Regions from separate parts of the Homo sapiens genome. Here region 1 is linked to region 2. The links are contacts of gene promoters, found by promoter capture Hi-C in blood cells and fetal thymus (Javierre and others, 2016). All regions are on one chromosome and are shown on one strand. Each heading gives the region's core, a stretch centred on a gene start or on the middle of the fragment in contact. The rest is flanking DNA. Distances are from core to core; before and after follow the strand shown.

Region 1 (4,108 bases), core at 131-2,630, 320 kb after region 2:
TAATTATATTAATTGACCTAATTTTCACAGCAACCCTATGAGTACGGGTTTATCTCCATCTTGTTTTATTTAATTTGGAGACAGAGTCTCACTCTCTCGCCCAGGCTGGAGTGCAATGGCACGATCTCCACTCACTGCAGCCTCCTCCTCCTGGGCCCAAGCGATCTTCCCACCTCAGTCCCCCAAGTAGCTGAGACTACAGGTGTGCACCACCACACTCAGCTAATTTTTGTATTTTTTGTAGAGACGGGATTTTGCCGTGTTGCCCAGGCTGGTCTTGAACTCCTGACCTCAAGCAATCCACCCACCTCTGCCTCTCAGAGTGCTGGGATTACAGGCATGAGCCACCACGCCCAGCTCATATACCCATTTTAAAGATGAGGAAAGTGCAGCACAGAGACATTCAGTAACTGGCACAGCTAATAAGTGGCAGAACTGGAATTCAAATCCAAGCTAACTCCAGAGTCCCCCTCTTTACCACCACACACTGCCAACAGAAATGTTGTTCTGACTGCAAAGAAATTGCTCACTTTTTAATTTAAGAAAAAAGGATGATCAAGAGAATGAGATGATAGCCAGGTGTGGTAGTGTGCACCTGTAATCCCAGCTACTTGGAGGTTGAGGCAGGAGAATTGCTTGAACCCAGGAGGCAGAGGTTGCAGTGAGCCGAGATTGCACCACTGCACTCCAGCCTGGGTGACAGAGTGAGACTCCGTTCCCCCCTCCCCACAAACGTGAATGAAATGACAAGCCACAATATTTGCAAAAGAGGTGTCTGATAAATGACTATTATCCAAAATTGCAAAGAGCTCTTAAAACTCAACGGTAAGAAAATGAACAACCTGATTAAAAAATGGGCAAAAGACCTGAATAGACACCTCACCAAAGAAGGTGGACAGATGGCAAATAAGCATATGAAGATGCCCAACATCATATGTCATTAGAGACTTGCAAATTAAAACAACAGTTAGGCTGGGCGCAGTGGCTCATGCCTGTCATCCCAGCACTTTGGGAGACCAAGGCGGGCGGATCACCTGAGGTCAGGAGTTCAAGACCAGCCTGACCAACATGGAGAAACCCCGTCTCTACTAAAAATACAAAATTAGCTGGGCGTGGTGGCACATGCCTGTAATCCCAGCTACTAGGGAGGCTGAGGCAGGAGAATTGCTTGAACCTGGGAGGCGGAAGTTGCGGTGAGTCAAGATCGCGCCATTGCACTCCAGCCTGGGCAACGAGAGTGAAACCCTGTCTCAAAATTAAAAAAATAAAAAATAAAATAAAACAACAGTGAGATGCCACTACACACCTATTAGAATGGTGAAAACAACACACTGACAACACCAAATGCTGTCGAGGATGTGGAGCAACAGAAACTCTCATTCATGAGAATGCAAAATGGCACAGCCACTTTGGAAGACAGTTTGGCGGCTTCTTACAAAACTAAACATACTCTTACTATACCATCCAGTAATTGCATTCCTTGATATTTACCCAAATGACTTGAAAACTTATGTCCCCACGTAAATCTACACACAGGAATGTTTATAGCAGCTTTATTCATAATTGCAAAAACATGGAAGCAACCAAAATGTCCTTTGGTAGGTGAGTGGATAAATAAACTGGTACATCCAGATAGTGGAATATTATGCAGTGAGAAAAAGAACTGAGCTACCAAGCCATAAAAAGACATGGAAGAGGCCAGGCGCGGTGGCTCATGCCTGTAATCCTAGCACTTTGGGAAGCGGAGGCAGGTGGATCACTTGAGGTCAGGAGTTTGAGACCAGCCTGGCCAACATGGTGAAACCCCATCTCTACTAAAAATGAGCTGGGCGTGGTGGCACACGCCTGTAATCCCAGCTACTCAGGAAGCTGAGGCAGGAGAATCACTTGAACCCGGGAGGCGGAGGTTGCAGAGAGCCGAGATCGCGCCACTGCACTCCAGCCTGGGTGACAGAGCGAGACTCTGTCTCAGAAAAAAAAAAAAAAATGGAGGAAACTTAAATGCATATTACTAAGTGATAGGTTTGGCTGTGTCCCCACCCAAATCTCATCTTGAATTATAGCTCCCATAATTCCCACGCGTTGTGGGAGAGACCCAGTGGGAGATAACTGAATCATGGGGGGCAGTTTCCCTCATATTGTTCTCATGGTAGTGAATAAGTCTCACAAAATCTGATGGTTTCATAAGGGGAAAACCCTTTTGCTTGGTCCACATTCTCTTTTATCTGCCACCATGTAAAACATGCCTTTTACCTTCCACCATTATTGTGAGGCCTCCCCAGCCACGTGGAACTGTGACTCCGTTAAACCTCTTTATAAATTACCCAGTCTTGGGTATGTCTTTATAAGCAGCATGAGAACAGACTGATATACTAAGTGAAAGAAGCCAATCTGAAAAGGCTACATACTGTATGATTCCAACTATATGACATTCCGGAAAAGGCAAAACTAAGGAGGCAGTAAAAAGATTAGTGGTTTACAGGAGTTGAGGGGAAGGAGAGATGAATAAGTGGAGCACAGAGGATTTTTAGGGCAGTGAAACTACTCTGCATGATACTGCAATGATGGATATGTGTCCTTGTATCTTTGTCAAAACCCATAAAATATACAACACGAGTGAGTCATAATGTAAACTATGGACTTTGGGTGATGATGATGCGTCAATTGCAGGTTCATCAATTGCAACAACTGTACAGCTCTGGTTAGGGGTGGTGATAGTGACAGAGGTTGTGGGTGTGTAGGGGCAGGAGTTATCTGGGAAATTTCTGCACTTTCTGCTCAATTTTGCCATGAACCTAAAACTGCTCTAAAAAATAAAGTCTTAAAAAAAGATGAAATTTTAAAACAATGATTCCAAAGTCATTTTGGGCATGTTGGCATCCTGAGATTATAAACAAGATTATGATTATAAACGAGGTCATGGTTATGATCAGAGGAAACTATGTGCTTTGTAGCAAACTGTTTCCTTGAAAAATTTCTGAACTGTACATTTGTAAGCATCAAGCTGAATGGATACAGTATGAAAACACTGTCCACCAGCTCTTTCCAAATGTAGAGCAGTTAATGGGTAAAAAGGAAGCCACTACTCTTTGTCTTCATCCATTTCCGAGAGAGAAGAGCAATACTTAAATTGTCTTTGATGCTATTTGTTTGACACCATTAATTCTTGTCATGCAATGTTTTTCTCTTTCATTTCTCAGCATGGGAAAAAAGGTGGAACAAAGAGAACCCCAGGCCTGGCCCTGTGAGTCTTCTTGGCCTTCTGTTAAATCACTGGCTTTCTAATTGGGCGACAGCTGGGGAGGATCCCTGCTGCTCCCCAGGGTTTCCTGAGGCCGCACGCAGCCTTTCCCCCCAACCTTGTAAGGGAGAGGAAATGGCATGGATCTGTCCAAGCTCTCTAACCAGAAACTGCATCTGTTAGCTCATGTCAGAGTGACCTAAAAGTTGCCTCTTGGCAACGCTTGGGCGATAGAAGAGACTCCTGCTGCCACCCTCAGGGTAAAATGAATAACTGAATTAGATACTTGAAATCAGAAGGGAAAACATATCGGGATCTTGTTGACAATTCATCCCTTCTATCCATTCCTTTATTTTATTTTTATTTTTAATCTTTTTATTTATTAATTTTGTACTTGGTTTAGCTCATGATTTCATTATTTTATTTTTTGGGGGACAGGCTTTCATTCTGTCACCCAGGCTGGAGTGCAGTGGCATGATCTCAGCTCACTGCAGCCTCGACCTCCTTGGCTCAGGCAATCCTCCCACCTCAGCCTCCTAAGTAGCTGGGACCACAGGCATGAGCCACCACGCCCAGATAATTTTTTTTATTTTTGGTAGTGACGAGGTCTCCCTATGTTGCCCAGCGTGGTCTTGAACTCCTGGAATCAGGCGATCCTTCCACTTCAGCCTCCCAAGTAGCTGAGACTACAGGTGTGAGCCACCACATGTGGCTAATTTTTGTATTTTTAGTAGAGACGGAATCTCACAATGTTGCCCAGGCTACATCTTGAACCCCTGGGCTCAAGCAATTCGCCTGCCCCGGCCTCCCAAAGTGCTGGGATTACAGGCATGAGCCACCATGCCTGGCCTCTATCAATTCCTTTAC
Region 2 (4,271 bases), core at 904-3,403:
GGGAAGGGGCAGGGATTTCTCCTTCTTCTTGGTCCTGGCTCCCAAGGGCTTCTGTCTTCATCTCTGCATGAGCTCTCCTTCCCAGAGACCAACTCTTTTTATTTTATTTTATTTTATTTTTTAATTTATGTCTGGAGCCTGGCTACTCTGCATTTGGGATTGGGGATGCTGGGTGGGTGTGTGGTCCATGTTCAGCGTTCTAGCAACACGTGTGTGTGTGTGTGTGTAAAGGCTATGCAGCCAAAATACCATCTGGCCAGACGGGCCCACCCACTGACTGTCTCGTCTCGTTCTTTTCAACCAGGAGGAATATGCTGGGGGCGGGGAGGTTTACACCATTGGAATAGGGAGAGAGGTCTCTGGCTGCAACGTTACTCTCTTTTCCCCACCCTCATCCAGCCTGTCTCCATTTACTGCTGACCAGCCCCTCAAACTGAGTGGAGCTGAAATACCTGCAGATATGTACATGGGTAGACATGTATGGGATTGTGGGTATAGATGAGTAGACAGATGGGAGGATGGATAAGTGGTTGGATGGACCGATGGATGTATAAGTGAACGGTTGCATGGACTGATGATGGATAGATTGGGAAATAAATGGATGGATGGATAGGTGGTTAGATGAATAAATGGGTAGATAGATTGGTAGGTGGATAGAGGATGGATAGTAGAGATGTAAATGGACAGATGGATAATAGGTCTATGGACAAATGGGTGGATGATTTAGGTAGACAGGTGGATGGATGGGTTTATGGACAGGTTAGGAGTAAATGGACCAATGGTTGGGGGAATGGATGGATGGGTAGATGAGCTAATGAATGGGAAGGGTAAAGAGTGGGAGAAGAAATGACAAGTGGAGCTATGTATGGACAGAGATGGGCAGAGGATGTCACCCTGCATGTGTTCCGGGTGGGAAGAGATGGGCAGAGGATGGATACATACAGATAGATTGGCAAACAGCCAAATGGGGTGAACTTACAAATGGATGAATGAGTGGGTGGGTAGATTAACGACTAAGTGGACGGGTGGGTGGAGGGATGGATAGAGGAATTGATTGTGTGGGTGGGAGAATGGGTGGATGGGTAGGTGGAGGAATGGATGTAGAAATGGACAAATCAGGAGTGTGCCAAATGGGCAATTGGAAGTTTACACGGGTGGGTAAATCTTGGGTGAAAGGCTAGGCCTGGCCCTGCATTACAGTGCCCCTGTCATCACACTCCTTTAATTAAGATTAAGCATCCCTGGTGTGAGCTGTGTCCAGTGCTATCACCTTTCACATCATGTAATGCTCCAAATGACGCTATCAAGTTGGGATAAGTCTCTCCATCTGACAACTGAGGAAACAATGCAAGTCACTTGCTCAAGGATGCAGCAAGTCAGTGGCAAAGCTGGGGTTTGAACCCACCCATAGCCAGCCAGAGGCATTCCATAATCAGTGCTCCTGCCATCCAGAAGCAGAGCCCTCTAGCGGAGGAGGTGTGATTTGAGGCCACTGGATATGGACAGATAAGAGAGACTACCCCCTCGGAGTGGGGCCTGCCTGAGATGGTAGGGGGGTGGGACCTGGATTGTCCCCCTCTACATTCCCTTTACCCTCATTTCATATCTAAAAACAGGAAGTCCCGTGCTCCAATCCCACAGCCGAAGTCTTAGAGCTGGGGCTGTAACCCATGCTGCGCCCCTCAAGGGGGCGGCTTCGGAAGCTTGGCCATCTAGAGAAACACTCCCCAGCAATTACCCCCGACTCCTGGCTCTCCTGCCTTTCCACAGTCTGGGGGGCAGGGAGGGGACAGCGCTGCATCATTCCCTGTGGCACTCCGCTCTGGGGCCATTAACAGACGCCTTCCCATCGATCGGATCTGCTAAGTGCTGCTGATTCAGGCGAGTGGGGGTGGGGGCCCCTGGGGGCAGAGCGGGTAGGAGCTGGGCAGGAAGAGAGGGGAGTCCAGGAAGGAGGTGGAGAGAATTGGCGAAGTTCCCTGCCACCCCCATTTTCCAGATGACGCGACTGAGGCCCAACCAGCTTTGTAGGAGGCGGAGTCTCCCCAGGGTCCCTCTCTGGCTGTCCTAGGGGAGGGGGCTCAGGGAGCCACGAGGCCCCTCCCTGCCTCTCCATCTCCCGGCAAGCTCAGAGGGGCGGGGAGAGAGAGCCAGAGGAGGAGGAGAACTCAGGCAGCTCTGCAGAGGGGGCCAGGAGCTCGGGTGTTTGGTACCCCCAGCCCCACCGCTGTTGCTGCTCCTGCAGCGGGGACACAGGTGAGGACGCCCCGAGAGAGAGGGGGAGGGGGACCACCACTAGCGCTGTCCTCATCCTTCCCTGGTCCAGCCCCCACGCCCTAACCCATCCTGGGATAGTCCCCAGGGGTCCCACTGGACCTTGCCCTTCCCAGGCCTCCTTCCAGGGACCCCGCACCCTCCCCCTGCCTATGCCACCTTCTCTCCTATGCCTGGCTGTGGTTGCTTCTCTTCCTCCTGCTGCCGCTGCTGCTACTGCCACTGCCCAGTACACACCGCCAGCCCCTCGGGGTGTGGTTTCCCCAGACCTGCCCCCAACGGTGGGACCCAGCCTTCTCCCGGCGTCTCCTGCCAGCTTCCTGCAAAGCCCAGGAGCCCCCCTCCCTGGAGACACACCCAACTCCCTTTCAACACCCCACCCCCCTCTTAATCCCATTTTGGGGTTAACCCCCTTCCTCTTATTTAGTCTTCATAGATCCCCTGGGTGCTCTGGGATTGTGCCCAACTTCCTAACATTTGAGTCCCGGCCCTTGGAATTCCCCAGGCCCCTTTTTCCTCCCTGTAGAACTCCTGAGAGTGTCGACCAGGCTTTGTTGGCCCGTCTAGATACCCACCTCCCCCAGATAACTCTCAGCCTCTCAAAAAATAACCCAGCCCCCTGTCTACCCCTTTAGATAACCCCTTCCCCTCTCCAGCCCTACTAGGAGGCTCTGGCCTCTCCTTTCTTCCCCAGAACTCCTGTAGAGTATAGACACCCCCCCGGGCTATTCTTGGCAACTCTAGGCAGTCCCAAGACACCTTTCAGCCTCTTTACAACCTCCTGGATCCACAGCCACCCCTCAAGATGCACCAGCTCCCTTTCCAGATCCATGAGGGGGGTCTAACCCTCTTATGCTTCCCCTAGAAGTCTTGAGGGTGTGGACAACCCTCCTCACCTGTCTCAGCCCCTCTAGAACCCCCACTTCCAGGCACTCTCAGTCTCTTTCAAGCACCTCTGGTCCCATTTCTACCCCTCTGGATGCCCCAGTCTCCTCTCCACCACTGCAAAGGAATTCCAGGCTCTTCTGCCTTCCCTGAGACTCTTGAGAGTGCAGAGAATTCCCCACGTGTTTCTTGGCCCCTCTAGACGCCCCCAGACACCTCTCAGGCACAGGCTGACTCCTTTAGAATCATCTCAGTCTCTCTAAACCCTCCCTCAGCTCCTTCTTGGCCCCATCCCCACACCCCTTTTCTGCTCTTCTCCATGTCCCCAAGGCCCTTCTCAGTCCCTCAGAACATTGCCCAGGCCCCTCCTAGGTTCTGTAAATGTCCCCCAGACTCCTTCCCATCTCTTTAGTTCTTCCTCCTGGTTCCTCTTGGCCTCTCTAGACACCCCCAGTTTCCTTGTTTGGGTGGCTCAAGGTGTCTCCAAGCCCCCACCATCCTGGAGACAGCCACATTCTCCTAAACGCCACCCTCACTAAGTCTCCCTGGGCTTGGGGAGTGGCACGATGGCGGCAGGCCTGGCCACGTGGCTGCCTTTTGCTCGGGCAGCAGCAGTGGGCTGGCTGCCCCTGGCCCAGCAACCCCTGCCCCCGGCACCGGGGGTGAAGGCATCTCGAGGAGATGAGGTTCTGGTGGTGAACGTGAGCGGACGGCGCTTTGAGACTTGGAAGAATACGCTGGACCGCTACCCAGACACCTTGCTGGGCAGCTCGGAGAAGGAATTCTTCTACGATGCTGACTCAGGCGAGTACTTCTTCGATCGCGACCCTGACATGTTCCGCCATGTGCTGAACTTCTACCGAACGGGGCGGCTGCATTGCCCACGGCAGGAGTGCATCCAGGCCTTCGACGAAGAGCTGGCTTTCTACGGCCTGGTTCCCGAGCTAGTCGGTGACTGCTGCCTTGAAGAGTATCGGGACCGAAAGAAGGAGAATGCCGAGCGCCTGGCAGAGGATGAGGAGGCAGAGCAGGCCGGGGACGGCCCAGCCCTGCCAGCAGGCAGCTCCCTGCGGCAGCGGCTCTGGCGGGCCTTCGAGAATCCACACACGAGC

What was found. The method cuts DNA at HindIII sites, captures the fragments that hold promoters and counts their contacts. A CHiCAGO score of 5 or more calls a contact.
Region 1: a contact is called between a fragment that was not itself captured here and the fragment with the promoter of KCND1 in region 2, in 3 of 17 cell types (activated CD4 T cells, non-activated CD4 T cells and naive CD8 T cells). The highest score is 7.5, in activated CD4 T cells.

The regions. Positions count from the first base shown.
Region 1 is chrX:48,647,827-48,651,934 of GRCh38, reverse strand. All of the region lies in intron 1 of LOC124905186 (a long non-coding RNA gene), which reads right to left. Among named protein-coding and RNA genes, the nearest start is that of WAS, 34 kb to the left of the region's middle. RefSeq lists an enhancer at 2,869-3,531. The HindIII fragment of the contact is 7,789 bases long and covers 1-4,108 here.
Region 2 is chrX:48,969,726-48,973,996 of GRCh38, reverse strand. KCND1 (potassium voltage-gated channel subfamily D member 1) reads left to right here and starts at 2,153. Exons shown (of 6, transcript NM_004979.6): 1 at 2,153-4,271. The coding sequence starts at 3,726. GRIPAP1 (GRIP1 associated protein 1) reads left to right here. Exons shown (of 26, transcript NM_020137.5): 26 at 1-274. The HindIII fragment of the contact is 6,364 bases long and covers 1,706-4,271 here.